Regions from separate parts of the Homo sapiens genome. Here all the other regions are linked to region 1. Evidence: promoter capture Hi-C in 16 types of primary human blood cells and fetal thymus (Javierre and others, 2016). All regions are on one chromosome and are shown on one strand. The core of a region is centred on a gene start or on the middle of the fragment in contact, and the rest is flanking DNA. Distances in the headings are between cores, read along the strand shown. Region 1 holds the start of ZNF671 (zinc finger protein 671). Region 2 holds the start of SLC27A5 (solute carrier family 27 member 5). Region 3 holds the start of ZNF324 (zinc finger protein 324). Region 4 holds the start of ZNF132 (zinc finger protein 132). Region 5 holds the start of ZNF837 (zinc finger protein 837). Region 6 holds the start of ZNF497 (zinc finger protein 497). Region 7 overlaps ZNF8 (zinc finger protein 8).

Region 1 (4,042 bases), core at 947-3,446:
TATTGTGTGGGAGTTTAAGTCTCTTTGTAGGTCACTAAGGACTCGCTTTATGAATCTGGGTGCTCCCGTATTGGGTGCATATATATTTAGGATAGTTAGTTCTTCTTGTTGAATTGATCCCTTTACCATTATGTAATGGCCTTCTTTGTCTCTTTTGATCTTTGTTGGTTTAAAGTCTGTTTTATCCGAGAGTAGTATTGCAACCCCTGCCTTTTTTTGTTTTCCATTTGCTTGGTAGATCTTCCTCCATCCCTTTATTTTGAGCCTATGTGTGTCTCTGCATGTGAGATGGGTTTCCTGAATACAGCACACAGATGGGTCTTGACTGTTTATCCAATTTGCCAGTCTGTGCCTTTTAATTGGAGCATTGAGCCCATTTACATTTAAGGTTAGTATTGTTATGTGTGAATTTGATCCTGTCATTATGATGTTAGCTGGTTATTTTGCTCATTAGTTGATGCAGTTTCTTCCTAGCCTTGATGGTCTTTACAATTTGGCATGTTTTTGCAGTGGCTGGTACCAGTTGTTCCTTTCCATGTTTAGTGCTTCCTTCAGGAGCTCTTTTAGGGCAGGCCTGGTGGTGACAAAATCTCTCAGCATTTGCTTGTCTGTAAAGTATTTTATTTCTCCTTCACTTATGAAGCTTAGTTTGGCTGGATATGAAATTCCGGGTTGAAAATTCTTTTCTTTAAGACTGTTGCCTTCTTTAGAATATTTATTTAGGGTATTGTGACAAAGTCAAAAGGTGATGCAGGACAAAAATCATTATATGCAGGACATGTCCTGTATGTATAGGAATCTTGGAAATTTTATTAGTGATGTCTTTCATGCTACTAACACATTTGAAAAACACCTACTGAGAGCTCGTATGTGTTCCTTGGATGTGTATTTTAACAGTGAATTATCAAGACAGCACAACTTCACTGTTGATTTTTACCATTCTGATATCTTCTTTACAATTGCTCAGCATTTTCAGGAAAAAAGAGTCACATTTTGTTGACAAAGTGTGGTCAAGATCACAACACAACCATATGCTTAACTTCATTCTTTCACTTATACTTTAGTATTCAGGCTCAAACTTTACTGAGATCTTAACTTTGTCCATCTATCACAGATATTTCCTTAGAGCAATTTCTTTCATTATCTTCAAATAACTACGGAATCATTATTAATAGCTGTCAGGATTTTTCCCCCGGGGATAATCTCACCTCCTAACACAGACACCATACTTACAATGACAATGACAGGTTAAATGGTAATTGCACTGTGTTTTGCTGTGATGGAGACATCACTGATTACCCAGGCAGGAAGAGTTTTCTGAAGAAATCTGTCCACTGGTTTCAGGGAGACTCCACATCATCCCTCTTCCTTCTTCCACTCCAAGGCCTTGTTTGGAATATTTTCTCTTCCGTCTCTGACCAAACTGAAGCTCACAAAAGTTACTGTAAAGCTTGAGTGCACACATATTTAAAAAGCAACAAGGTAATAGTTATTAGCTTCTAGCTGTGAGTGTACGCAAAGAGACATTGTGGTGTGGTGTATCTATTTAGTTTTGCAGCTTTGGGGAACATCTGAAATGTCTCAACATTTCTGCGATCGGTGCATACTACACTCCAGGGAATCTAGGTCCAGGCCTTTTAAGAGGACAGAAGTCAGCCGGGCACCATGGCTCACTCCTGTAATCCCAGCACTTTGGGAGGCCGAAGCAGGCAAATCACAAAGTCAGGAGTTCGAGACCAGCCTGGCCAACATGGTGAAATCCCGTACTCTGCTAAAAGTACTAAAATTAGCCTGGCGTGGTGGCGGGCCCCTGTAGTCCCAATTACTTGGGAGGCTGAGGCAGGAGAATCGCTTGAACCCGGGAGGCGGAGGTTGCAGTCAGCCGAGATCGCGCCACTGCACTGCAGCCTGGGAGACAGAGCGAGACTCTGTCTCAAAAAAAAAAAAAAAAAAAAAAAAGAGGACGGAAGTCCTGTCAGCCCTTTGAAACTCGGGTTACTTTTCCCAAACAACTTGGCCCTCCTACTTCGAGTTTTCCCAAGAGCCCAGGCCGAGAATCCCCTGCCTTGAAGGATAGCTCAGTGGGAACCACACTCTACCCACAAACCTATACGTTGCATACCCAATGAGGGCCCAGGAGAGGGGTGTTTCAGTGCCTGCGGGGGGTGCGTGGGCGGGACTTCCGGCTCCTCCTTGTAGCGGACATTTTGTTTCTGTCAGGCTGTCCCTGGCCGGGGTTCTGTAACGCTTGTGTGGGCCGCAGGTGGAGGTGTTGGGAAAGCGCGGAGGAGATGTTGTCCCCAGTGTCCCGAGACGCGTCTGATGCTCTGCAGGGACGGAAGTGCCTGCGTCCCCGATCGAGACGCCTGCCGCTCCCGGCAGCTGTCCGCGCCCACGGTCCTATGGCGGAGCTAACGGACTCCGCGCGGGTGGGTGCTGCGTCCTCCGGGCCCTCAGTCACCCTTTCTCCGACTCCGAATCGTAAAGTGCCTGCAGCCCCTGTGTCCCAGGACAGCGACGCACTCTTGGGGCGGGGTCCTATCTCGGTGTGGGTGGGTGTGGGAGAGTTACGGGCGGAGGGGACGGCGCAGGTAAAGGCTCGGGGGTGCTGCTGACCCCCAAACATTTGGGAGACAGGGTTCTCATCAACACAGAGCAGAGTTTGAGGAACTGTGACTGGAATGGCAGGCTGAGAAGTTGTCGCTTCATTCTGAGGGCGTTGAGATTAACTGAGGGTTTTGAATAGAAGGACGTGATCTTAGCTGGGATTTTAAGTGTCTCGAAATTTGCTCAGGGGAGAACATTAGTTTGGGGTGGGGACTGCGAGGATGGATACGAGGAGACCGGTAAGGAGGCTACTGCAGTGGATTCCAGGAATGCTTTGGTGGTGGATGTACCAAGAGTAATGGCAGGTGAGTGGGTAGAAGTGATCATATTCTGGGTAGGTTTTAAATTTGAAACCAACAGGATTTTCTGCTCCATCATATGCAGCTATGACTGAAAGTAAGGCATGAAAGAGCAAGGTGTTTTTGTTGTTTTTCCATGAACGTTTGGATTTTGGAATGGTGACTTTGAGATGTCTCAGAGTGGAGGCTTCCTCACTTAGGCAACTAGAGAGGAAGGTCTGAAGTTGTGGGGAAGGGGCTGGGCTTAGAATATCTTTGGGGTGAAGGGAGCGGTCTGGAGTAGGTCAAGGCCAGGAGGTCAGATTTAAGTGGGGCAGTCTTAAGTATGTTATTTCATATCTCTGGGGTAAGAGATGAGAAGGCTGGGACTGCAGGGCAGGGAAGAGGGAGTGGGCATTCTTGAGACTCCCCCCAGAAGAGAAGGGTCCTGCCATTTGAAAGGGTTCTTTTCAGTGTTTGCAGGAGGAGAGAGCTGTAGGGTATGAGGAGTTTGGCCTGGGATGGCAACGATGGGTGGTGTGCTATTGCTACTATCTGATTATCTCACCCTCATTTTGTGTGTTTTCTTTTAGTTTTAGTTTATTTATTTTTTTTATTTTTTTTGAGACGAAGTCTCACTCTGTCGCCCAGGGTGGGATGCAGTGGCTTATTGCAACCTCTACCTCCCGGGTTCAAGAGATTCTCCCGCCTCAGCCTCCCAAGTAGTTGAGATTACAGGTGCCCACAACCACCCCTGGCTAATTTTAGTATTTATAGTAGAGACGGGGGTGGGGAGGTGGGAGGGGTGGGGTGGGGTGGGGAGGTGGGAGGGGTGGGGTGGGGGCGGGGGAGTGGGGGGGACGTTCACCGTGTTGGCCCAGGTGGTCTTGAACTCCCGACCTCAACTGATCCACCGGCCCCAGCCTTCCAAAGTGTTTGGATTACAGTTGTGAGCCACTGCACTTGGCTTTGGTTTTATTTTATTTATTTATTTTTTTTTTGGAGACGAGTCTCGCTCTGTCACCCAGGCTGGAGTGCAATGGTGCGATCTTGGCTCACTGCAGCTTCTGCCTCCCAGATTCAAGTGATTCTCCTGCCTCAGTTTTCCCAGTAGCTGGGATTACAGGCATGCATCACCATGCCCAGCTAATTTTTGT
Region 2 (4,042 bases), core at 861-3,360, 780 kb before region 1:
CACCGCGCGCTGCTGGAGCGCCACCTGGCGGCGCACCCTGCGCCCTGATGGCGCTGGGGCCTGGCCTCGCCCACGGTGGATCCGGGGCCTCCCGCACAGTCGGCCACGCCCGCTGCGGGACCCGTGGTTCCCGCCACTAGACCACGCTCCCTCCTGAGCGCAGGTCCTCTCTCTCCCTTCACCCTTTCTCCATACCAGGGCCTAAGTCCGCCTTACTCCTCTCCTCCATGTACTTGAACCCTCCAGGTGGTGCCGGGCTGGGGCTGGGGCTGGTTAGACCACTTCTGAGAACTGGACTATTTCCTGCGTAAACCGGGCGCTCAGGCGCTTGGACCCGGCCCAAGATTTGACTCCGGTTCTCACCCCGCCCTCTCCTGGGGTGGTGGTGGGGGCTGGGGGGCCGCTTGCCTGCCCCAGGGTCAGGCTGGGCAAGGTCCCTAGCTCTCTACCCAAGCTGTTACTCCCTCATGGGGCGCCTAAGGAGACTCAAGTGGACCCATCATATATGGGGGCTGGGCCTCGGGACTCTCGCTCTAATAAAGGACTGTAGGCCATGGGGCCTAAACCACGAAGCTGTGAGCACCTGGATCAGTGCGTGCCTTGCCCTCATAGACAAGATGTGAGTGTCAGGGTTCAGCGTCCCTGTTCTTGGGTGGCATCCATGCGGCCCACAGGCTGTCCTGGGCAGGAACAGGATGGTCCACTTTGCCATCTAGGACCTCTATTCTGTAGGGGCTAAGGTGGGCTGCATATATAACCAGCACTTGGTTCTCTTGGATCCCTCAGTCCTGTGGGGAGTAGGATAGGCAGGCCACATCTGAGGTGGGTCTCCGAGAGGGAGGCCACGTGAAAGCCCCATCATACTCCTGGTTGCTGCTGTCCACGACCTTTAAGGCCCCTCCCATAGATCTTCCAGTCAGGCTCTAAGGGTCTTTTGGACTTAAGACTTCCCCTCCCCGACCTTGATGGACATGGCTGAGCACCTTACTTGTGGGGAGCCCAGGGGGATCTTTGGGGCCAGGTTGCACTGAGGGTATATAAGCCCCCATATATCTGCCCTTGGTGCTGGGGGCAAAGTTCAGGGAGGGCTCCGATGGCCGTGTTGGGGGCAGGAAACAGTGAGGGGTGGGATCCTGGGGCTGACTGCTGGGCGGTTGGGGACACCACCCCTACTGGCCAGCCAGTGTCCCAGGCCCCTGCATCCAGCGGAGAGAGCAGCCACTCTTTGCCCCTCTCCTCTTCAGCACAATAGTGGCTCCTAGCCTAGGTGCCCTGCCATAAGGATTTGGAGCTGGTGGAGTGGGGTATGGCCCCAGGCCATACCCCAGCCTGACCTGCCAGGCTCCTAGGCCAATGGCAGCTCCTCTGGGTTCACCTTCTGAGACTGCTTCCTCAAGGTGAGAGGCCAGGGCTTTCATGATCCAACTGTGTGCATCATGGGCTGACTTCAGTCTCCTGAACCCCAGGACTCCATCGTCGTCAAAGCCAGAGGTGGAGCAGAGAGTCAGAGCAAGCACATGGGTGGGGGGCAGAGCTGGGTTTGAATCCAGGCGATGCCAGTGTTCCTGTATTTACTGAGCACTTGCTGTATGCCTGGCAGGAGGGTACGATTCCTCGGATCATGGGACAAGGGGCTTAGCCTGGCTGAGCCCCTCTCCTCAGGGTTTCAGTGGGTGTCACAGGAGGACCTCCCAATGAGGTCCACCTTGCTGTCCTGTTGCTTTTCTGTTTGGCCTGATTGGAGTGTTCCCAAGGGCAGGGATTTCTGTGCTCTGAGTGTCTGGTACCCAGCAGGGATGGGAGGGGAGGCAAGGGAGTTAGATGCCAGCCCTGGAGGGTGGATGGGGCAAGCAGGACAGCAGGAAGGAGGCTAGTGGTGCCCAAGGGGCAGAGACCTGGGAACCCAGAGGCCAGTGATGGAAAGGGTTAGCGCCAGGCAGAGAGGGGCTGGACCCACACACAAGACCAGGCAGAGCAAACAAACGTAGAGGAGAAGGGCTGGGGGCAAAGTCCTGGGGAGAGGACCAGCCACTGTCAGCAGTGCCAGGGCCACCACCCCTGGGGAGGAGCCATTGGGCTACTCTTGAGGGGCCAGAGGTGAGCCTGAACACTCCACAGCTGCTGCTCCTAGGGAGGAGCTGGTACCATGGGTGTCAGGCAACAGTTGGCCTTGCTGCTGCTGCTGCTGCTCCTGCTCTGGGGCCTGGGGCAGCCAGTGTGGCCAGTCGCTGTGGCCTTGACCCTGCGCTGGCTCCTGGGGGATCCCACATGTTGCGTGCTACTTGGGCTGGCCATGTTAGCACGGCCCTGGCTCGGCCCCTGGGTGCCCCATGGGCTGAGCCTGGCAGCTGCGGCCCTGGCACTAACCCTCCTGCCAGCACGGCTGCCCCCAGGACTACGCTGGCTGCCGGCTGATGTGATCTTCTTGGCCAAGATCCTCCACCTGGGCCTGAAGATCAGGGGATGCTTGAGCCGGCAGCCGCCTGACACCTTTGTAGATGCCTTCGAGCGGCGAGCACGAGCGCAGCCTGGCAGGGCACTCTTGGTGTGGACGGGGCCTGGGGCCGGCTCAGTCACCTTTGGTGAGCTGGATGCCCGGGCCTGCCAGGCGGCATGGGCCCTGAAGGCTGAGCTGGGTGACCCTGCGAGCCTGTGTGCCGGGGAGCCTACTGCCCTCCTTGTGCTGGCTTCCCAGGCCGTTCCAGCCCTGTGTATGTGGCTGGGGCTGGCCAAGCTGGGCTGCCCAACAGCCTGGATCAACCCGCATGGCCGGGGGATGCCCCTGGCGCACTCTGTGCTGAGCTCTGGGGCCCGGGTGCTGGTGGTGGACCCAGGTGAGGGCCTTGGAGCCAGTGGAGAATGGAAGGGGGCAAGGGCAGGGACTATAGGACAGGGGTTCTGCTGGGACTGGCAGAGGCCCTTGGTCCCCACCTGCCTACTTTCACAGGCAATTATAATCAAGACTTATGAGCAGAAAGTAGTTCTCAGGTCATCAGAGTTTAATTTTCCCACAATTTGACCAAAAATACTAATGATGGGATTCTTTACCAAACAACATGGATGCTTTTCTCTACTAGCTGCTCCTCTGCCTGCATCTGTGGGTCTCAGATCCCGCCTCGCAACCTCAAAGGTGAGCCTTGCCTCTGTTTCTCCTCTGACCCATCTCTGCAGACCTCCGGGAGAGCCTGGAGGAGATCCTTCCCAAGCTGCAGGCTGAGAACATCCGCTGCTTCTACCTCAGCCATACCTCCCCTACACCAGGGGTGGGGGCTCTGGGGGCTGCCCTGGATGCAGCGCCCTCCCACCCAGTGCCTGCTGACCTGCGTGCTGGGATCACATGGAGAAGCCCTGCCCTCTTCATCTATACCTCGGGGACCACTGGTGAGGGTGCCCATTAGCCCTAGCACCAGCCTCTGAACTCTCAGGCTGACCTGACCCCACACTTGACTTGTGACTCAGTGTTGACCTCTGAAACCACTTTACCCTCTGATTTTGACATTTGTTTTTTGTTTGGCTGTTTTTTTTTTCGAGGCAGAGTCTCGCTCTGTCGCCTAGGCTGGACTGCAGTGGTGCAATCTCGGCTCACTGCAACCTCCACCTCCTGGGTTCAAGCAATTCTCTTGCCTCAGCCTCCTGAGTAGCTGGGATTACAGGCACACACCACTATGCCCAGCTAATTTTTGTATTTTTGGTAGAGACAGGGTTTCCCCAAGTTAGCCAGGCTGGTCTCTAACCCCTGACCTCAGGGGACCTGCCCAACTCAGCCTCTCAAAATGCTGGGATTACAGGCGTGAGCCACTGCTCCCAGACTTGATTTTGATATTTGGCCTGAACTCTGACCCCCAATGTAATTTGAGAGGTCAATGCCAGAATTCTTCCTGTGTCCAGTAAACAGCCACTGAAACCTTTGATCTTGACATATTACTTTCAGTCCAAATTCAGCCTGTGAACCCAACCACAAATCCCTATACTTGACTGTTCTCTGAGAGCCTCAAACCCCAATGTAGGCCTGGCTGTTGGAGATCTATCCCTCTGGTCAGGC
Region 3 (4,042 bases), core at 1,040-3,539, 740 kb before region 1:
GGCAGCCCTGGCCAGTCAGCTTGTTATCAGTTGCCCATTTCATGGAGTATCTAGGACCTTACCCAGCGAGGCCACAAGTGCGAAGTTGTCTAGCATCACGCGGCGGTACAGGGCCCTCTGGGCTGTGTCCAGGAGCCCCCACTCCTCCTGGGAGAAGTACACAGCCACATCCTCAAAGGCCATCTGGTCCTAAAAGAGCAGGGAGGAAGAGACAGCCATGGTCTAAGGCTGGGTTATCCAATCTTTTGGCTTCCCTGGGCCACATTGGAAGAAGAATTGTCTTGGGCAACACATAAAATACATTAACACTAATAACAGCTGATGAGCTAAAAAAAATAAAAATTGCATAAACATCTCATGTTTTAAGAAAGTTCACGAACTTGTTTTGGGCTGCATTCAAAGCCATCCTGGGCAGTGGGTTGGACAAGCTTAGTTTAAGGTATGGCTGTGAGCCAGGACCAAGCTCCCCATCCCAACAGCCACCTTCCATGATGTCCCTCAGACACTCACCCTCCTTCCCTGGGTTCTGCCCCCACCATCTTCAGATGGCACTTCCCTCACATGTCTGGGACCCCTCCCCTCTGCCCTCCCTGACCAGACCCCAGATGCCTTCTTGGCCTCCCCACTGGCAACGCCATACACAAGCAAGCTAGAACAAGTCCTGGCTGGGCCCTCAGCTGCCACACCAAGAGCAGCCCCAGGTGTCCACTCGTGACTCAGCATGACCACTCATGACCCTCCCCAGATGCACCCTTCCTGCTCTTGTAGCAAGAAACTGTGAGTCCCAGCAGGGGCTTCCCAGGCATACCCATCACTGGGACCCTCCCCTGCTGAGCCTGCTTGCCTGACATTTCCAGGCTGCTCATCCAGCCTGAGGGACTGGATGATTCTCACCAGTCGCCACAGGGGAGCAGCCTCAACAACCTGTGAACACAGAGGAACTCAATCCCTTCCTCCTTTCACCCGGTGTCCCCTTTCTTCCCCTCTCTGTTGCCACCCTCCCCTCCTCAGTTAGGTGCTAGGCTCTTCCCAATAGCCCCAGGCATCCCAGCTGGTCTTCTTTACCCTCAAGCCATAACTGCCCACACCTGGCTGAGTCCCTGCCCATTCCTCAGTCCAATTCATAGGCCCTGTCCACAGCCCAGGACGCCAACAACGTCAGGTCCAGTGACATGACCAACCTGGGACATCCCAGACTCTTGATCTTTCCCCTGAAGGAAACCTGCTTTCCTTTCAATTCTCCTTTCTATCTACAGCAGCTCTCTTCTTCCAGGCGCTCAGGCTGAACAACATGGGGTACTTAGTTCTTCAAACAGCCCACACCTGATGCATCCGCAGATCCACCAGAATTCACCTGGTCGCCCACCTCCACTGCTGCCCAGACTGTGGCAGTCGGTTCTTCCCTTCATGCCGACACCCCTGCATGTCTGTTCTCCACGCAACAAACGGTGGAACCGTTTTAAAGTCCTCAGAGGATGTCCTGATTCTGTTCAAAACTTCTATGTCTCCCGACGCCCTCGAGATAAAGCCCACTCCCTCGCCTGATACTGCAGCCGCACACATCCCCTCTACTCCAGCTCCACATCGAGAGAGCTCAGTCCCAGAAGCACCTGGGCTTCGGCTCCCCTCCCAGGTTTTGCACACGCAGGACTCTCCCCTCGGAGCCTCCTTCGGGACCTCAGCCCCCTGGCTGCCCGAACTCGGGAGCTCACCAGTGCCCTGGACGCAGGAGTTTGCACTGACCCCCGCAACCCCCCCAGGGCAGGGAGAGGAAAGACGACTAGGCGAGGTCTAGGAAGCGGCCTCCCTCCGTGAGGGCGCGGTCTGTGTGAGCAGGGACTCCCCTGCTTCCCCGACGCGGGCTTGTCAGCGCCACCGCCGCCAGCGGAACCCGCAGCTGGGAGGGAAGAAAGGCGTGGACCACCCAGCCTTTCCCCGCCAGCAGCGTCCCGGGGCCGCCCCGCGCCTCAGTCTCCCCGGCCATCATGGACGTGGAACGCCCAGCGCGCAGCCTCCTGGGCTGCCGCACGGTGGGAGAGCGCATGGCTCCCGCCGCGGCCCGACAGTCCCCTGGACGCCCACGACGCACTCTGAGAAACAGAGGCTTGGGGGCGCGGCCGGCGGCCGGCGCCCTTGATCACGACGCGTGCGCAGGGCGGGCCCGACGCGGGCCCTCAGCCAGTACCTTCCTCGCCGCCAGCCTCGAGCACCAGGAACCCCCTGGAAACCGGACCCGACCCGCGGTCCCCAGCCCAGACCACCGGTGTGGCCTGACGCGGGCGGCGAAGTGACAGTCCCACCGCCGGAAGTCCAGCCCTTCGGTTCTCATTGGCCCAGTGCGCGCCGCGGACGCTTGCGTACAGCCTTCCGGGTCACGTGGTTCCCGCCTGTTTCCCTGCGTGGAGGCGGGGCCACTACCGGTCTCCTTGGCAACGTCCAAGCCCCTGCCGCGCGGGGCGCTGGGAAATGGAGTCGCGCGGCGGCCTCGGGTTTTCAAGGGCTTGGTGGCGCTGGTGGATTCGCCCGGTGTGTAGTCCTGCCTTCGGCATTCCAGGTGTCCTCCCAAGCAGTCCCGGAGACTAAACCCTGCAGGTGCGAAAGCAGAAACTGCCGAGGTTCCAAGAGGCAACACCAGCAGTGAGCACGGAGGAGAAAATGCACCGGGTAGCGCAGGTGGAGGTGGAGGAGCCGATGCCTGGAGCTCCGGGTTCCCTTCCCAGCTCTGCCTCTCACTGACTGTGCGTCCTGGGCGCGGGTTTGACCTCTCTGTGTCAATGTCCCGTAAAGGTTTAAGGTCCGTTTTCAACCTTTACACCAAGAATTCTCAGCCCGTAAGCCTACATTTGTCTTAAGTATGAGACTGTTCCTCGACACTTGCCCAAAGCATCTGTTTTCCTTGTAATTTGGATGGGCAGAAGTTAATTCCCCAGATTTGCTTGTCCTTAGACCATCTAGATCTTGTCTTGCCCCACACATCACAATATTCATTCTTTTTTCCTTTTTTCTTGGGACTCATTTAAGTTTTTTTTTTTTTTTTTTAACAGGGTCTTTGTTCTGTTGCCCGTGCTGGAGTGCAGTGGCACAATCTCGGCTCACTGCAACCTCTGCCTTCAGGTTCAAGTGATCCCCCCGCCTCAGCCTCCGTAGTAGCTGGGACCACAGGTGTGCGCCACCATGCCTGGCTAATTTTTGTATTTTTTAGTAGAGATGGAGTTTCACCATGTTGGCCAGGCTGGTCTTGAACTCCTGACCTCAGGTGATCCGCCCACCTCGTTCTCCCAAAGTGCTGGGATTACAGGCCAATTTAAGTGTCTTTGACACATAAAAACGAAAGGCAGAGCAGTCTCAATGTAGACTGTCTTGTTTGGCAGATAATAAAAGGTTCTTTGTCTTGTTTTTGGAACCTGTAGACAGTTCTCAGCTGTCCAGTTCCTTAACTCTTTTTGCCTCCCTCCCTCTATACCTACCTCCATCTATAACTATCTCTCTGTCAACTGTCAGCTATAACTGTCCACCTAATTGATTCTACTTGTAAATCCTTGTAGAGCAAGGGAGCTCATCATGTTTGGAATGTTTTAATATAAATTTTGCTACTTTGAAAGAATTTAAGAACATTTCAGGACTGGGCGCAGTGGCTCACACCTGGAATCTGAGCACTTTGGGTGGCCAAGGTGAGCGATCACTGGAGCCTAGGAGTTTGAGACCAGCCTGAGCAACAAAATGTGACCCCATCTTTATAAAAAAATATAAAAATTAGCTGAGCATGGTCTTGCATGCCTGTAATACCAGCTACATGGGAGGCTGAGGTGGGAGGATTGAGTTCAGGAGTTGGAGTGTGCAGTGAGCTATGATGGAGCCCCTGCACTCCAGCCTGGGTAAGAGAGAGACCCTGTCTCAGGAAAAAACAAACAAAAACCCTGAGGGGGAAAAAAAAAACCCCAACACTTAGAAGTATTAAAGTTCAGGGCCGGGCGCGGTGGCTCACGCCTGTAATCCCAGCACTTTGGGAGGCCGAGGCGGGTGGATCATGAGGTCAGGAGAT
Region 4 (4,042 bases), core at 451-2,950, 710 kb before region 1:
CTCAAAGGTCATTAAGCCCTGCAACACCAAGCCAATGGGCAGACAGATGTGATCTAAGCACTGAGCGTGAGCCCTAGCCACTGGTCCTCCAACCTAAAACCCTCCTTCCCAAATCCTATCCTCAGGCCGTTCACTGGGCCAGGCCACCAACATAATGCAGTCTGGACGTCCTGAAGCCACACCAGAATTCTATATATCCAGAGGCCCATTTGACACCTCCACTCACAGGTCTCCAGACAATTCAGACTCTATACCTACAAAATCCATCGCTAATCTTCCATGAAACATCCTCCTCCTGCCAACTGCCAACCTCTATTCTCCACAGGAGGCATCCTAATTCTTCCTAACTACTTGGGATGGTCCTTCACCCCTACTCATGCTTATTCCACTTATCTAAGGTAGCAAAAAATTCCATTAGCTCTATCTTGAAGATCCACTGGGAATCTGATCACTTCTCCCATCCTTCTTGCTTCCGTTCTGGACAGGCCACTATCATAACTGTCTGGAACAATACTGCAATAACCTCCCCCACAGTCTCCCTGCTTCCAGCCCCACTACAACCACCTTCTCCAGTAGTGTGTTCATTCAGCAACCACTGAAATACTTTCCAAATTCTAACTCAGGTCATGTCCATCCCTTTTCTGTTCAACACCTTTCATGGCTCCCAGGCGCCCTCGGTGTGCCAGGAGAGGCAGGACTCCTCTTACGCTCTCCACTCGCTGCCAAGGGGGCATGAGAGCCTGCCTGAACGCTCAGGTCAGGGTCAAGTCCAAGTCTTCGCATATGCAGATCCCTCCTCCTGTACCCTCCACGTCTCAACAAACTGGATTCTGAAATGGTGACCCCCAACCTGTGAACGCTCCACACTGTTCAGTGGGGCCCGCAGAGGACCTGGGGCAGATACTTCTCAATCGGAGACTTAGGACAATGGTGCTGAGTCCAGCGGAGTGGGTGCCAGGAGACCTTTGGCGCACGTTCCATGCCTACAGCCGGGCGCACACTGGGTCAAGACCTCCCAATGCGTAGCTTTTCTTGGCCTCGGCCTCGCGCTCCCTAAAGCCAACATAACGCCAAGGGCGACGACTCCCGAGAGCCGCGGACACCTCCGCGCGGTGCAACCTGAGGGTCCCACTGGGCCGGCTTTATCTAAGGCACAGGGTGGGGAAGGGGGGTGCGGTGTTGTGGGGGGCGAACACTGGGCTCAGGGGCGATATTCGCCGCGGTGGGGGCGCTTGTATGTCAAGAAGGCGGAACTTCCCCGACTCTCGTGCCTTCCTCGCTCCTGTTTCCATGGGCCCAGGGAGCCTCCAAGATTCCGTCCCTCGCCTGACAACGCGGTCCCTTCAGAAGCAGACAAAATCGAGAAATGCCAAAGTGATGGTCCGAGGACGACGACGGAAGTCCCGCTGCCAGGCTGTGATTGGCCAGCGTCTTACACTCCGCCCGGAAGTGCCTGTCTCCTCGGCTGCCAATGGCCAGCCCTGAGGCACCGCGAGGGTCCTTCTGGATAATGTAGTTTGCGTTGCCTGAGCAGCGACGCAATAAACGCCATTCCTCAATCACCTTGGCAACGACCTAGCAGTAGCGTGACGGGCATAGGGAAATAGCGTCATAGACGGCGGGGATCCTTGAGCCAATGAAAGCTCGGACCAGTGGCAAGTCCGAGCTGTCATTGAGAGGCGGGACTTCCGGCGCCGCCATTGCGGTCCTCATTTTGCTGCTGGTGGGTTGGGCTACAGCAGGCCTCTGGAGCCACACCAGGGCACGGGAGTGGGTGCAGGGACCGTCACCGCGCCTTCACACGCACCATAGTGCCCGGCTAATTACTCTGCTTTTATGAGCCAAGGTGTTCCCGAAAGTGGAGCCAGCGCCACGCGTCTCCAGGGTCTCCATACCCAGCCTTCGTCCCTGCGGTGCCCAGAGGCCTTGCGCGCATTTTGCATTTGGGAAGACAGGTCCTGAGTGCGACCGTCACCCAGCGGAAGTGTGAGGGTTCGGCCCAGCGGCAGGGCTAGCCCTGGGCCTCCTGTTATGGCCCTGCCCAGCCCACAGGTTCTAATGGGGTTGCCAGCGTTGCTGATGGGCCCGGCGCAGGTAAGTGGAGTGTGCCCCAGGCCCTCACCCGCTGGGATTCCGGCCCTCAGGATCCTGAAGCCCAGATAGAGGGGATGTTGGTGTCCTGGGACTCTTGATCGTGTCCTGTCCTCACACGTGGGTCCTGGGCCCTGCCCTGGGAGTCACTTACCCTTACCATCCTGAATCCAGGCAAGGGGTTATATCGAGGGATTCCCATTTCTGGAATCCTGTGGAATGAGATCTGGAAGGCTGTCCCAGGGACAGTGACCAGCATGTGTACCTTGTTTAGTGGTGATGAAATGGAAGCATTCTGGGGACTGCCGGTCTCCATTTAGTCTGGTGGAAACAGGGAAGGGAAACCAATAGTTAGGCCTGGAATGGCAGCCTGAGGAGCTGGACCTCTATTCTGATGGTGGTGGGAGCCATGGAAGGTTTGGAGTAGAGGAAGTAGGTGCTCTGACTCCAGTCTTAACAGACGCCCTATGGATGCCTAGTGGGCAGCAGACTGGAGGGATGGTGATGGTGGAGCAGGAAGGCCAGTGAGGAGCTGACAGATGTGGTCCAGATGTGTGCTTTGGGTAGCTGGACAGAGGGGTGCCCGTGGAGGTAGGACAGATGGTTGGCTTCTGAATCTGCCCAAACTGGGCCATGGATTACCTGATGTGGGACAGTGAAAGAAAGTGAAATGTTAAGATTGACCTAAGGCTGAGTGCAGTGGCTCACACTTGTAATCCCAGCACTTTGGGAGGCCAAGGCGGCCAGATCACTTGAGGTCAGGAGTTCAAGACCAGCCTGGCCAACGTGGCGAAACCCCACCTCTACTAAAAATACAGAAAAATTAGCCAGGACATGGTAGTGTGCACCTGTAATCCCAGCAACTTGGGAAACTGAGGCAGAAGAACTGTTTGAATCTGGGAGATGGAGGTTGCATTGAGCTGAGATCGTGCCACTGCGCTCCAGCCTGAGTGACAGAGCGAGACTCTGTCTTAAAAAAAAAAAAAAATTGCCGGGCGTGGTGGCTCACGCCTGTAATCCCAGCACTTTGGGAGGCCGAGGCAGGTGGATCACTAGGTCAGGAGATTGAGACCATCCTGGCTAACACGGTGAAACCCCATCTCTACTAAAAATACAAAAAATTAGTCAGGCGTGGTGGTGGGTGCCTGTAGTCCCAGCTACTCGGGAGGCTGAGGCAGGAGAATGGCTTGAACCCGGGAGGCGGAGCTTGCAGTGAGCCAAGATCGCGCCACTGCACTCCAACCTGGGTGACAGAGCGAGACTCTGTCTCAAAAAAAAAAAAAAAAAAATTGACCTTAGATCTTTCAGATGTGGAAGTTGGTGTGAGGAGTAGATTTCAGGGGGAAGATAAAGAGTTGGATTTTGGCCATGTTGTATTTGAGATGTCCCAGACACTACCAAATTGAGGTGCCAAGTAGACCACTAAACATGTGATTATGAAATTATGTCGGGTTTAGGCTGGAAACATCCAAGGGATGGATGCTTGTGTGTGGACACTGCATGCAGTTGTGGGTTGGGTTCAAGATAGTGGCTGAGCCTCCTGAGCAGAGAGTAGGTCTAGGACAACAGTGAAGCATAGCGGCAAAAGTAGGATGAGAGTTGGGCTTTGGTTTAGGTTGATTTGCTTCTCTACAGCTCACTACATTGTTGCGGCCATCCTTCTTGTGGTCAGGGCATGTTATCTCTTCTTAAATAGGGTCCTGGGGTTTTTGTCAGGCTGGTGGAGTGGCAAGATCAGAAAGGGTCAGCCTAAGCTGAGTCCCCAAGCCAAGGTGGGGGCCAGTGGATCTTGGATTTGAGTGTTAGGAAGAGCAAGGACAGCTATGACTGGGGAGGAGACAACACATACAAAGGCAAAGATATCAGAGGGAAGAGATATTTGAGATCTGCTTATGGTTCTGGGCAGCTGATGGTTGAAGGAACAGGGCTGGCAGGGGAGGCATTGACTTGA
Region 5 (4,042 bases), core at 973-3,472, 650 kb before region 1:
AGATGCTTCTCTGGTGCTGCCCCTGCATGAACCCTGCAGGGTCCACTTAGACAACAGGCTTGTGTAGAAGTGAAGAAAGCCTACAGACTGTCACAGCCCCCATAGCCGGTCCCCTCCAGACAAGTCCCCCGCACCTGTGCCTGCCAAGTGGTTAGGCCTTTCATTGGTGCTTCAAACTCCACTCCAGGGCTGCCAGTCACCCCATGCCAGCCCTGCAGGGACAAGGCCTTTGTGTGGTGGCCAGGCCTGTGGTACCACCAGAATCTTCACTCCAGAGGGAGGCCCTTTCTGTGCCTGGGAGTGGGAAGTTCTTCCACATAGGCTCAAGACTCCTCCAGTAGCAGTGCATCCACAGGTGTGAGAAATCCTACTTGTGTCAGGCCGGGTGCAGTGGCTCATGCCTGAATCCCAGCACTTTGTGAGGCCGAGGCGGGTGGATCATGAGGTCAGGAATTCAAGACCAGCCTGGCCAAGATGGTGAAACCCCATCTCTACTAAAAATACAAAAATTAGCCGGGCGAGGTCGTGGGCACCTATAATCCCAGCTACTCGGGAGGCTGAGGCAGAGAACTGCTTGAACCTGGGAGGCGGAAGTTGCAGTGAGCTGAGATCGCGGCCACTGCACTCCAGCCTGGGCAACAGAGCAAGACTGTCTCAAAAAAGAAAAAAAAAAAGAAATCCCACTTGTGTCCCAATTGGGGCCAGTGGCTGAACCTGTCAGACATCTGCACACCCACACAGAGCCAGCAGCTGCACTCCTTTCTCTGTGACAATTGTCAAGGCCTTCCTGTGCAACTCTCTTCAGCCACCAAGGGACCCACAAGGCGGGCAGCCCTCCAAGTGCCCTTCAGCCTCCTGCTCGCCCTCAATTAGCTTGGTAAGCCCTGAGTTTTGTACTTGGGCAGGGAGATAGACCTCCTGACAAGGCTTTCGATGTGCAGACACCCAAAGGATGGAGAAAGGGAGTGGAACAGTCCCAGCATCCCTGAAGCAGATGCAGTGGAGGCAGAAAGGTGGGGCAAACTGGGTCGTTACATGCAATATATGTGCTGGACTGGCCAACAAAATTAGATGTCCCTATTGAGGGCAGGAGCCACACAATAGATGGGGGCAAGAGCTGGGGGTTACAAATGGGTAGGAGGCGTGACCAGTTCATCCTACCTGGGAGGGCCCGTAGAGTCAGCAACACCCAAAGGGGCTGGGGAGGCTGTGGTTCCCCAATGGGGCCGCACGTGTTAGAATCAACTAGGAGCCGGACTAGGGGCCTGGCGCAGTGGCTCAAGCCTGTACTCCCAGCACTCTGGAAGGCTGAGACACGAGGATCGCTTGAGCCCAGGAGTTCCAGACCAGTCTGGGCAACATATGGAGACCCTATCTCTAAAATAAATAAATAAATAAAAATAAAAAAACTATCCAGGCATGGTGGCTCCCACCTATAGTCCCAGCTATTCGGGAGGGTGAGGTGGGAGGGTCGCTTCAGTACAGGAGTTCGAGACCAGCCTGGGCGACATAGTGGGAGGAGGAAGGGAGGGGGAGAAGGAGGGGGAGGGAGAGAAGAAAGAAAATTAGCCGGGCGTGGTGGCGCGCGCCCCTGTTAACAGCTACTCTGGAGGCTGAAGTAGGAGGATCGCTTGAGCTCAGGAGGTCGAGGCTGCAGTGAACCGTGATGGTGTCACTGCATTAGCCTGGGCGACAGAGCGAGACCCCGTCTCAAAAAAGCAAACCAAAAAAAATACAAAAAAATAGACTTAACTGAGGAGTTTTGACGCGCATATGCTCGGGCCCAGTCCCAGATTCTGATGTTATCGGTCTGACTCGCAACGCGCTCACCAAGACACTTCAGAGCTCCCCAGGTGCTTCCCAGCCCAACTCTCCCACCCGAGGGGAGCCTGCGAACCGCAAGTCGGTTCCGGGTTGGGACCTCTTAGAAATCAGATTGGGAGAGGAGGCTATCAATCATAATCATGACCAGTCACCCGCTTTCACGAGAAGGAATGGGCGGGACCCTACGTCCCCGTCCAGAACGCCGTTTCTTTGGCGACGACTTAGGTCCACGCCCCGCCTTTTAGGTGTAGCCGGCCTCTGTTTCTATGATAACCGAAGCCCAAGCCTCTCCCTACACCGCTTTCTCCGCAGCGTCAAAGCGGGACATGACGGGACTACGTTTCCCAGCAGTCCCCGCGCGGGTTCCCGCCTGCGCTTGCTGTGGCCCGGGTCCCTCAGTGCCGCGGCGGCCCGGAGGTGGCGGGAGGACGGCTCCGCGCTGCATGCGGGGCGGGGACCAGGGACCCGTGCGGGCCGCCTCCAGAGAGTAAGTGGCATTCTGCGCGGACCCGCAACCTCGGCCTGCGAGGCGGGGACCTCCCGGCGCATAGCGCGGCCACCACCCCAGTCCCCTCTCCACCTCCGCGCGCGGGGTCCGGGGCAGAGGCGTGACGCCGCGCACTTCCGGTCCTCGCGCTCCGGGTCCGGACCGGCCACACAGCACTCGCGACCTTGAGTTCCGGGCGGGACGGGCTTCTGTAGTTCTGGCCCCCGCGTTTCCGTGCTGGGTGTCATTGAAGCCCGCGAGGGGAGGCTCCAGGCCCGGGACCCATCCTGGCGGCCTGCGGCTCTCGGAGTCAAGCCCACCTGCTAGCCGAGGCCGACGCCGGCCTCCCTACCGTCTCTGCCCCCGCATCCTGGCCTTTGCACTTTGCTCTTTCCTTGTCTGCAGACCGGTTTCATGCCCCCTCTTCACAGAGGCCCGAAGAATCCGCTGCCTCCCTCCCTGGCGCCCTCGCGCTGCTCCCTGTCTGATGTTCTTCACGTCTTTTTCTCTCTTAAACGGTCTCTTGTTCATTTCTTCTTGTCTGCGGTCCCCTCCTTCACTCACTATTAGAGCAGGATGCAGCACCGTTTGGCCCTGACACAGTGGATGTCCTGCGAGGGTTGAAGCTTGCTAATCCTTGAGGGTGGAGGCACTGTCGGGAGGACAGACACAGAAGGGAGCTGTGCCTGCACTCAGAGGACATTTCTTCTGCTGTACAGTGCATGATGCACTGTTCTTCCCATTGCGTGCACAGTGTAGAATTGGACATAGGGGCTAGAGTCTGTGTCCCCTGGGACTGTCAGTGTGGGTGAGGTTGGTCTGTGGCTCAGAGAGGTGGAGCCACGCTGAGCTGGGCACTAGCCTGTGTCCTCCACACCTCAGAGCCACCAACGTTGACTTCCCTGCACATTCTGTTTTTGTTGTTGTTGTTGTTGTTGTTGTTTTGAGACGGAGTTTCGCTCTTGTTGCCCAGGCTGGAGTGCAGTGGCGCGATCTCGGCTCACTGCAACCTCCGCCTCCCGGGTTCAAGCGATTCTCCAGCCTCAGCCTCCCGAGTAGCTGGGATTACAGGCATGCACCACCGTGCCTGGCGACTTCCCTGCACATTCTCTTGGGCAAATAAGACCTCATTGTGCCGTGTGCAACCTCCATGAGGATGTTGAACCTCACTAGCTTTCCTGTGTGTGCTGTTGCTCTGCAGTTCTGCAGGGCTCAGCCTTGGCCACGTTAACCTCTCAGTCCCCCTAAATTGGTAACTCTGCATCCTGTTCCCAACACCAGAAGCCCTAAGGACAACTAGAAAGGCTGGGCGAGCACCCAGGTGCAAGCATGCTCACCTGGGGCAGGTGGGAGGTCACTGTAAGAACAGCCTGGGAGAGCTGTAATGCACCATCAAGGACGGGCTCCTGGGACCTGGGACCCAGAGCCTCGATTGTGTTTGCTGTGCTCAGCCTCAGATCATGGGTCCATGGCTGGAATGCCACCCACCTACAGGTGGGATAGTTGGACAGTGCATCCTGGGAGCAGATCAAGGAGACGAAGAGACTCGGCCATGGTCCACAGCTCCCACCTGCTGTGTCTGGTGCTGGGAGGCAGGTTCTTGTTGCAGCAGAGGAGCCACCCCTGGGAGCAGGGCATCTGGGGACCAATCCGAAGATGCTGTTAGCACATGGCTAGCAGGTGCCCCTCAGCCCCCACCTCCCACAAGTTCAGGGTCCCTTTCTGCCAAGT
Region 6 (4,042 bases), core at 969-3,468, 640 kb before region 1:
CGCTCTGTTGCCCAGGTTGGAGTGCAGTGGCATGATCTCAGCTCACTGCAACCTCTGCCTCCCAGGTTCATGCGATTCTCCTGCCTCAGTCTCCCAAGTAGCTGGGATTACAGGTATGTACCACACACGGCTAATTTTTGTATTTTTAGTAAAGACGGGGTTTCACCATGTTGGTCAGGCTGGTCTCGAACTCCTGACCTCAGGTGATCCGCCCACCTCCACCTCCCAAATTGCTGGGATTACAGGCCTGAGCCACCCCACCCGGCCAATAAAAATTTTTTTAAAGCTAAAATTGACTCTCATGCAAATAAGATAAAATGAACATATGTTAAATATTTTAACTTAATGAGAGAAATAGTAAGATGTTACCAGTTACTTGATGATGGAGGAAAGGACGAAAAGCCAAGGAATACATGGAATGCAGCTCTAGGTGCTGAAAAAGGCAAGGAAAGGTTCTACGTTAGAGCTTCCAGAGGGAGCTCAGCCCTGTCAACATCTTGTTTCAGCTCAGTCATATCGATGTTAGACTTCTGGTCCCCAGAACTGGGCGGGAATATATTTCTGCTGTTTTAAGCCACCAAATTTGTGGTAATTTGCTGCATAACCACAGGAAACTAACACACCATCCCTCAGTTCTGCTTTTCTGTATGGACTCCATTCTCTTAACAGATTCATCCTTCAGCGGGGCAAGAAGGCTGCAGCTGCCCCAGCTGACAGATGCTCACAGCCTCAGGTTCAAAGCAGATAGAGGCCCTAACAGTTCAGAGAGAAGTCCCACGATGCTCACAGGTCCAAAGTGACCACTGCCAGGGCCAGAGGGATGGACTGCCCTGTGCTGTGGACCTGGGCCATGTACCCACACCTGCCCAAACCACCTGGGCTGAGGTGAGAGCTCCCTAGTACAAATTGGGAAAAATTGGTACAAAAAGAGCTCGTGGAGGCCGGGTGCAGTGGCTCGGGTCTGTAATCCTAGCACTTTGGGAGGCCAAGGTGGGAGGATCACTTGAGCCCAGAAGTTCAAGACCAGCCTGGGCCATATAGCGAGACCCCGTCTCTAGCTATTCATTTATTTTAGCTTACAGCATCTGGTCTATGTTGTTTTTTGAGACGGAGTCTTGCTCTGTCACCCAGGCTGGAGTGTGCAGTGGCACGACCTCAGCTCACTGTAACTTCTGCCTCCCCGGTTCAAGCGATTCTCCTGCCTCAGCCTCCCGAGTAGCTGGGATTATAGGCACACGCCAACAAGCCTAATTTTTGTATTTTCAGTAGAGACGGGGTTTCACCATGTTGGTCAGGCTGGTCTCGAACTCCTGACCTCGTGATCTGCCCGCCTCGGCCTCCCAAAGTTCTGGGATTACAGGCGTGAGCCACCGCGCCCGGTTTATTTATTTATTTTAGCCAACAGCACTCGGTGTTCCCAGACGGTCTCCCAAGTACTAACCAGGCCCGACCCTGCTTAGCTTCTGAGATCCCGACTCAATTTTTTTTTTTTTTTTTTGAGACGGAGTCTCGTTCTGTCGCCCCAGGCTGGAGTGCAGTGTCGCGATCTCGGCTCACTGCAAGCTCCGCCTCCCAGGTTCAAGCGATTCTCCTGCCTCAGCCTCCCGAGTAGCTGGGACTACAGGCGCCCGCCACCACGCCCGGCTAATTTTTTGTATTTTTAGTAGAGACGGGGTTTCTCCGTGTTAGCCAGGATGGTCTCGATCTCCTGACCTCGTGATCCGCCCGCCTCGACCTCCCAAAGTGCTGGGATTACAGGCGTGAGTCACCGCGCCCGGCCCCCGACTCTATTTTAAAAACCGCGTGGATTCCAGCTTGGTGGGTGTTCCACAGCGCGTGGGTGTGAGACGCAGCTCAGTGGCGTCAACTCAGCAAGGTTCCAGGGTGGTAAAGACGGCCTGGGGCCGGAGGAGGACCGCCAGGGAGAAGCTACGTTGGCCCGACTTGCGTCCGCGACCCGGGCAGCCCCAGGCGCCTGTGTAGCTGTTGGGTGTGTGCCGCAGAGGCTGGCCGGGTGCAGGAAGGGGCGGAGCGCATCCATGGCAACGCAGGACGCCCGAGTAGCTTGGCTGTGGCGCCGTCCCCATGGGAACCAGAAGGCGCGCGCCCGCAGCCGCGGCATAGTTACGCAGGCGCAGTGGGGAGAAACGCGACGCCTTGGGCCGCTCTGCCGAATGCAACCGCGCCCCCAGGAGACCCGGTGCCCGCCCTCCTACCATTCCACGCGGCTCGAGCCCGCGTGCGGGCCTCTTTCAGGCCGCTCCTAGTGGACGCAGAGGCGGGCCGAGGACGGTGAGTGACGCCGACGGACACCCTCGGCCAGGCACAGATCCGCCCTCCGGCTCCAACCACTCCCGCCGCGCGGGGCAGGACGGGCCTCGGCCCTGAGCTGGGCCCTCTGGGACCACCGAGAGATAGGCCTCCGCGCCGTCCAGAGCGGCCCGGAAGTGGCCCTGCACGGGCCAGAGGCGACCGTGGTCGGGACGGAAATGGCTCCCGTTTGCTGTTCTCTCGGTGAACGCGAGCCTTATGGCGATCAGTTCTGTGGCATCGTTCCTCCTGCTCGTTTATTCTTTCACTCATTCACTCATGCCCTGCCGCGCCATCATTTCTTCCCACATTCATTTATTCGTTCATCAGTCCCCAGCCCCGGGTAGTTTCGGAGCTCACCAGGCTGGGCTCGCCTCCCAGCCTCCGGAGCTGCCCGCACAGGCCTCGCGCCACCTGGCCGCAGCTTCCTCCCCTTTATCCACTCCGTATTTGTTTGTCCAGCCTAGGCCTTGGGGGTTGTGGGGGAGACACAAGTACCCGTGACTGGTCGGACAAGTGCCCGTTGTTGGGGGCGTGGGCGCTGGGACTGACGCGGGAGGTGGCTCTGATCATGTCGAGGTGAGGAGGAGGCGTTGAGGCTCAGAAAGGGCACGCAGCGTGGACGTGAGGACGTCGGGGAGGCTGGAGCAGTGAGGCCGACAGGAAGGACCTTACGGGGCTCACATGCTATCCCACGACGAGGACGGACTCAGGACGGCAGCCCTGATAGATGCGGCTGGGGGCTGGCGGGTCGGGGTCGCACACCACAGGATGGAGGGGCAGCGGTGCCTGGCTCCGCCTTAAGAAACATGGGCCCTTGGGGGACCCGGATTTCTGATACTTCAATACACAAATATGGATTTTTATTGAAATCAGATGTCGTTTTTTTAAAATTTAACTTTTGATTTGAGGTAATTATAAATTCACATGCAGTAACAAGTAATGCATACCCTATGTACGCTTTACCCAATTCCCCTAAAGGTGGCATCTTGAAAAACTAGAGGCCAGGTGCGGTGGCTCATGTCTGTAATCCCAGCACTTTGGGAGGCCAAGGCGGGTGGATCCCTTGAGCTCAGGAGTTAAAGACCAGCCTGAGCAACATGGTGAAACCCCATCTGTACTGAAAACACAAAAATTAGGCGGGTGTGGAGGCTGGTGCCTGTAATCCCAGCTACTCGGGAGTCTCAGGCAGGAGAATCGCTTGTACCCAGGAGGCGGAGGTCGCGGTGAGCCCACATCACGCCACTGCACTCCAACCTGGGCAACAGAGCGAGACTCTGTCTCAAAAAAAGAGAAGAGAAAGAAAAACTAGAGTACAATATCACAACTGAGATGCAGAATATTTCCATCACGAAGGATCCCCGTGTTGCCCTTACAGAGCCGCATACCCTTCCCTCCTACCTCTGCTCCCCGTTAACCTCTTTTTGTCAACTAGTAATCTGTTCTCATTTCTACCATTTTGTCATTTTACGAATGTTGCATAGGCTGGGCGAGGTGTCTCGCGCCTGTAATACTAGCACTTTGGGAGGCCGAGGCGGGTGGACCATCTGAGGTCAAGAGTTCAGGACCGGCCCACCGGCCGGGTGCCGTGGCTCACGCCTGTAATCCCAGCACTTTGGGAGGCTGAGGCGGGCGGATCACGAGGTCAGGAGATCGAGACCATCCTGGCTAACACGGTGAAACCCCGGCTCTACCAAAAATATAAAAAAATTAGCCGGGCATGGTGGCAGGC
Region 7 (4,042 bases), core at 641-3,140, 570 kb before region 1:
AACAAGTATGAATATGACCAAGACACACACTCTCTGCTCATGTGAACACTGTATGGGGGATGCAGACAGTAAACAATGAAAGAAATTATCAAACTTACTTTAATTTGAAACAGTTAAGATTTTTGTTTAAATTTATTTTTTGAACTGGTAATAATTTTACATGTTTCAAAATTCCAAAAATATAAAATGATAAAGAGTGAAAATTATTCCTCATCACTGTCCTCCCAATTCTTCTGGCCAACCAGTATGCCACTTTTACCCTTTCAGAGATTATGTGTGTACATATAAACAAATGTTTCTTATTTATTTATTTATTTTTGAGATGGAGTTTCGCTCTTGTTGCCCAAGCTGGAGTGCAATGGCACAATATTGGCTCACTGCAACCTCCACTTCCTGGGTTCAAGCGATTCTCCTGCCTTAGCCTACGGAGTAGCTGGGATTAGAAGTGTGCACCACCACACCCAGCTTTTGTATTTTTAGTAGAGATGGGGTTTCACCGTGTTGGTCAGGCTGGTCTTGAACTCCGGACCTCAGGTGATCCACCCGCCTCGGCCTCCCAAAGTGCTGGGATTACAGGCGTGAGTCACCTTGCCTAGCCTGTTTCTTCTTTACATAAATGGAAACATACTCTACAGTTTGACACCTTGCTTTTATCTACTTAACTATCTTAGAGCTCTTTCTCACATTAGTATAGTTTGAGGATCCCTAATTCAAAAATCTGAAATCTGAAACACTTCTGGTCCTGAGCATTTTGGATAAGGGATACTCAACCTGTATATAAAGAGTCTTCATTTTTAAGGCTATGATCTCCATTCCACCATAAATGACTTAGCCAGTTCCCCATGGTGGACATGGAGGGTTGTTTCCAAATTCTGACTTTTAAAATCAATAGCATAATGAAAACCATGTACAAACAGTCTGCACACATACAAATATATGTGTAGGATTTATTCCCAGCAAGTTTGCTTAGACAAAGGGTTTATGTATGTGTAATTTAGATAGTGGCTGATAAACTGCCCTCCACAGAAGTTGTATCAATTCACATTCCCACTGTAAATGTATAAGAACCCCTCCAATGCCCCCTTTGAGAAAACTCAAGGCTGGTAAAATACTGGGTGGAGAGCACATTGTTACAATCCTCCTGAAAGTTAATTTAAAGAGCTACATGAAATTCATAGAGAAAATCCTCAAAATAGAGTAAGCACATGTTACAAGACAACTAGAAGGGATTCCAAATTTCTAAACACAAGATAACTATACACATATATATTCCTCTGTGTGTATGTAAAATTTAGTGTACACTATGTATGTGTAGACACACGTGTATATTTTAAGAAAAAGCTGCAAGGAAAATTAGTAAAATCCTAATGGTAAGGACCATCTATGGATGGCTAAAGTATGAGGAATTTTACACAAGTTTTCATTTTTTTTTTACTTTTATGCATTTTCCAAGTTTTGCTACAAAGAACTCGCATTACTTTTATGAACAGAAAAAAACATGTCTTTTCCCTAGTTAACAGTAATTTCCACGGAGGAGTTTCTTATCTGTTTCAAAATATCTACAAGGAAATCAGTAGGAATATCATGCTTAGAAAATGTGAACTGAAATGAGAAACAGAAAATATGCAAAGATCTGAAACACTTCTGGTCCCAAGCATTTCGATAAGGAATATTCAAGCTGTATATAGAGTCTTCATTTTTAATGAATTTTTATGATCACCATTCCACCATAAATGACTTAGCCAGTTCCCCATGGTGGACATGGAGGTTCTTTCCAAATTTTTACTTTTAAAATCAATAGCATAATGAAAACCATGTAGCCTGCACACATATAAATATATATGTAGGATTCATTCCCAGCAGGTTTGGTGAGACAAAGGGTTTATGTATTTGTAATTTAGTGACTGATAAACTGCCCTTCATAGAAGATGTATAAGAACCTTCCCACACCCCCTTTGAGAACTCAAGGCTTGTTGAGTTCCAGTTGATTGCTTCATCCCAGCTTACCACCCTGTGGGGCTGCTATAACCTCAGCCAACCCCATGCCCCCTCAGAGAAGTATCAACTGTGACCCCTTCAGGACTGGCCATTTTGGGGGCCAAGGTGGAGGGAATGAGGCAATCACAGGCCTGACTTCCAGAGCTGTCTAGAACCATGCTGTCATTTTTGGTCCCACTGCTTCAGAGGGGAGGAGCTTTCCTGTCTGGATTCCCAAGCCTGTGCCCCAAACTGCTGGTGGAGCAGAAAGGAGGAATGATCCAGAATAGGGTTTTGGTACCAGACTGTTTGGTTCACACTCTGGCTGGGCCACTTGGTAGCACATTACTTCTCCTCTTAGGGCCATCCTGCACTGTTGGTGGCAGTGGGGATGAAGTAAGCAAATCCGAAATGTTTACATGGCAAAATCAACAGGACCTCTAACTCCATGGAGTGGGGAAGGGGAGAGGTCAAGAAGACTGGTTTTCTGGCTTCCATGATGGGATGGCAAGTGGAAACAGCCTCCAGGAAAGGGATCAGGGAAGCAGAGACTAGTCTGGGTGGAAAATGAGTTTTGTTTGGGGTAGGCTGGGTTTGGGGAGCTTTCGGCACACCTCGGGGAGTTGCCCAGTAGCACACAGCAGTTGTTTGGGTCTGAAGCCCAAATCTCAGAAGCACCAGACTGATTTGGTGGTGAGCAGCACAAAGCTAGGGATGTAGATGACACCTGGGGAGGGCGTGGAGCACAAGGTGGACTCTAGGACCCCAGCATTTAGGAAGGGTGACGGGAGGTTGAGAAGTCCCTGAAGAGTTAGAAGGAACCCCACAATGCAAGGAGATGGAGCTCTGCAAAGAGGTTAGCAGGCTTCACAGTCCTGGGGATGAAGAGAGACGACACCAGAGGTAGTACCTTGGACAGTGGTTGCAGTGGGTTCTGTGAAGCAGTGGGGGCGGACAGCAGGTCTGAGGTGTGAGCTGCCACCAAGGGAATAGGGAGCACAAGCGATTCTCCCAAGAGCTTGAAGGAGAAAAGCAGCAGATACGGCTAGCTGCCTCCATCATCCACCAAGGGAATAGGGAGCACAAGCAATTCTCCCAAGAGCTTGAAGAGAAAAGCAGCAGCTACGGCTAGCTGCCTCCATCATCCACTTCCCAGGACTTTTCTCTCCCACCTGTCTCCACCACAGAGGTTAGAAAGGTAAATACGAGGTTTCTAAGCCCCGTTGTTATTAGGGGTGGCCCCCTGACCCATCTGTGGCCAGTGAGACTAAGGGGGGCATGTGCTGCAGGCTTCTGGGAATGTTTTTCCTTTAAACACCATCAGCGGTAAGTGTTGGCCTGCCCATTCCCCCTTCTTTCAGTCTTCACTGTGGATGCAATGGCTGGAGCCATAGGAGTCTCCTCATGACCACAATGGAAAGGTTGAGAGATTGCAGAAAACATCGACTGTGACACAGCTGAGCCACTGAAAAGACAGCCTTTGAACAAAGCCTCATCTGTTTAAGCCATGGTCAGCTGGGTGCTGACATCAAATTCTAACTCCACCACTTCCTAGCTTGGGCTGGTTACTTTTGTTCTAGTTACCACTAACTTTTGTCCTGTGCCAAATTTTGCCTATCTATAAAATGGTACTAACTCACAGAACTATTATTGTGGCAGTGTCGGAGGGTGCAGCATTTAGCTATGCGAATGGAGGTTATCTAAGGAGACAGAAGTGGCGCAGTCCAAGGTAGGAGGCCAGAGTTGCTGTGAAAAGTGAGAGCTGACACGGCAACGTTTTGAGGACAACCCCGAAGAGGTAAGTGCAGAGAAACGAACTTGGGCCATCCACAGGGTCCTGTTGAACCTCTAGAGATGAACCACAAAGCTCTGGCTCTGGCATCCTGGAGGCCAGCTCTGCCTTGATTGGATAGCTGAGTTGTGACACTCCCAGCATCCAAAAAGCAAAAACGGACACGGGAAGTTCTTTTATTTTTTTCGAGATGGAGTCTAGCTCTGTCACCCAGGCTGGAGTGCAGAGGCACTATCTCAGCTCACTGCAAGCTCTGCCTCCCAGGTTCACGCC

Evidence for each region. Contacts are between HindIII fragments. The CHiCAGO score rates a contact against its expected background, and 5 or more counts as called.
Region 2: the fragment with the promoter of SLC27A5 here is called in contact with the fragment with the promoter of ZNF671 in region 1 in 1 of 17 cell types (total CD4 T cells); the score reaches 5.3 in total CD4 T cells.
Region 3: the fragment with the promoter of ZNF324 here is called in contact with the fragment with the promoter of ZNF671 in region 1 in 8 of 17 cell types (neutrophils, naive CD4 T cells, fetal thymus and 5 more); the score reaches 15.7 in neutrophils.
Region 4: the fragment with the promoter of ZNF132 here is called in contact with the fragment with the promoter of ZNF671 in region 1 in 1 of 17 cell types (neutrophils); the score reaches 6.1 in neutrophils.
Region 5: the fragment with the promoter of ZNF837 here is called in contact with the fragment with the promoter of ZNF671 in region 1 in 1 of 17 cell types (neutrophils); the score reaches 5.9 in neutrophils.
Region 6: a contact is called between the fragment with the promoter of ZNF497 here and the fragment with the promoter of ZNF671 in region 1, in 7 of 17 cell types (neutrophils, naive CD8 T cells, activated CD4 T cells and 4 more). The highest score is 13.0, in neutrophils.
Region 7: a fragment that was not itself captured here is called in contact with the fragment with the promoter of ZNF671 in region 1 in 1 of 17 cell types (neutrophils); the score reaches 6.4 in neutrophils.

Annotation. Positions count from the first base shown.
Region 1 is chr19:57,725,778-57,729,819 of GRCh38, reverse strand. ZNF671 (zinc finger protein 671) reads left to right here and starts at 2,196. Exons shown (of 4, transcript NM_024833.3): 1 at 2,196-2,429. The coding sequence starts at 2,292. RefSeq lists enhancers at 1,850-1,899, 2,040-2,479, 1,997-2,497 and a silencer at 1,818-2,043. The HindIII fragment of the contact is 7,103 bases long and covers 1,453-4,042 here.
Region 2 is chr19:58,510,060-58,514,101 of GRCh38, reverse strand. SLC27A5 (solute carrier family 27 member 5) reads left to right here and starts at 2,110. Exons shown (of 10, transcript NM_012254.3): 1 at 2,110-2,834; 2 at 3,172-3,381. The coding sequence starts at 2,147. LOC105372485 (a long non-coding RNA gene) reads right to left here. Exons shown (of 2, transcript XR_001754024.2): 2 at 2,979-4,042. ZBTB45 (zinc finger and BTB domain containing 45) reads left to right here. Exons shown (of 3, transcript NM_001316979.2): 3 at 1-572. The coding sequence ends at 48. RefSeq lists silencers at 1-38, 59-108 and an enhancer at 1,893-2,407. The HindIII fragment of the contact is 7,866 bases long and covers 1-4,042 here.
Region 3 is chr19:58,465,327-58,469,368 of GRCh38, reverse strand. It overlaps ZNF324 (zinc finger protein 324), which reads right to left and starts at 2,289. Exons shown (of 4, transcript NM_014347.3): 1 at 2,186-2,289; 2 at 63-189. The coding sequence starts at 183. RefSeq lists enhancers at 789-908, 1,327-1,941, 1,942-2,558 and silencers at 2,040-2,169, 2,250-2,299. The HindIII fragment of the contact is 6,014 bases long and covers 431-4,042 here.
Region 4 is chr19:58,437,811-58,441,852 of GRCh38, reverse strand. ZNF132 (zinc finger protein 132) reads left to right here and starts at 1,700. Exons shown (of 3, transcript NM_003433.4): 1 at 1,700-2,094. The coding sequence starts at 2,032. ZNF132-DT (ZNF132 divergent transcript) reads right to left here and starts at 1,405. Exons shown (of 1, transcript NR_186311.1): 1 at 1-1,405. It also overlaps a transcript of ZNF324B not described here. RefSeq lists enhancers at 503-1,012, 1,162-1,291, 1,524-2,034. The HindIII fragment of the contact is 11,200 bases long and covers 1-4,042 here.
Region 5 is chr19:58,379,210-58,383,251 of GRCh38, reverse strand. It overlaps ZNF837 (zinc finger protein 837), which reads left to right and starts at 2,222. Exons shown (of 3, transcript NM_138466.2): 1 at 2,222-2,311. RefSeq lists a silencer at 1,961-2,470 and enhancers at 2,821-2,880, 2,415-2,956, 2,911-3,140, 2,957-3,498. The HindIII fragment of the contact is 42,021 bases long and covers 1-2,939 here.
Region 6 is chr19:58,360,927-58,364,968 of GRCh38, reverse strand. ZNF497 (zinc finger protein 497) reads left to right here and starts at 2,218. Exons shown (of 3, transcript NM_198458.3): 1 at 2,218-2,292. It overlaps ZNF497-AS1 (ZNF497 antisense RNA 1), which reads right to left and starts at 2,343. Exons shown (of 3, transcript NR_136527.1): 1 at 2,217-2,343; 2 at 370-433. It also overlaps the pseudogene RNA5SP473. RefSeq lists enhancers at 2,524-2,653, 2,383-2,931. The HindIII fragment of the contact is 6,825 bases long and covers 1-4,042 here.
Region 7 is chr19:58,299,683-58,303,724 of GRCh38, reverse strand. ZNF8 (zinc finger protein 8) reads right to left here. Exons shown (of 4, transcript NM_021089.3): 4 at 934-4,042. The region is part of intron 4 of ZNF8-ERVK3-1 (ZNF8-ERVK3-1 readthrough (NMD candidate)); the gene reads right to left. Among named protein-coding and RNA genes, the nearest start is that of ERVK3-1, 3.7 kb to the left of the region's middle. The HindIII fragment of the contact is 9,060 bases long and covers 1-4,042 here.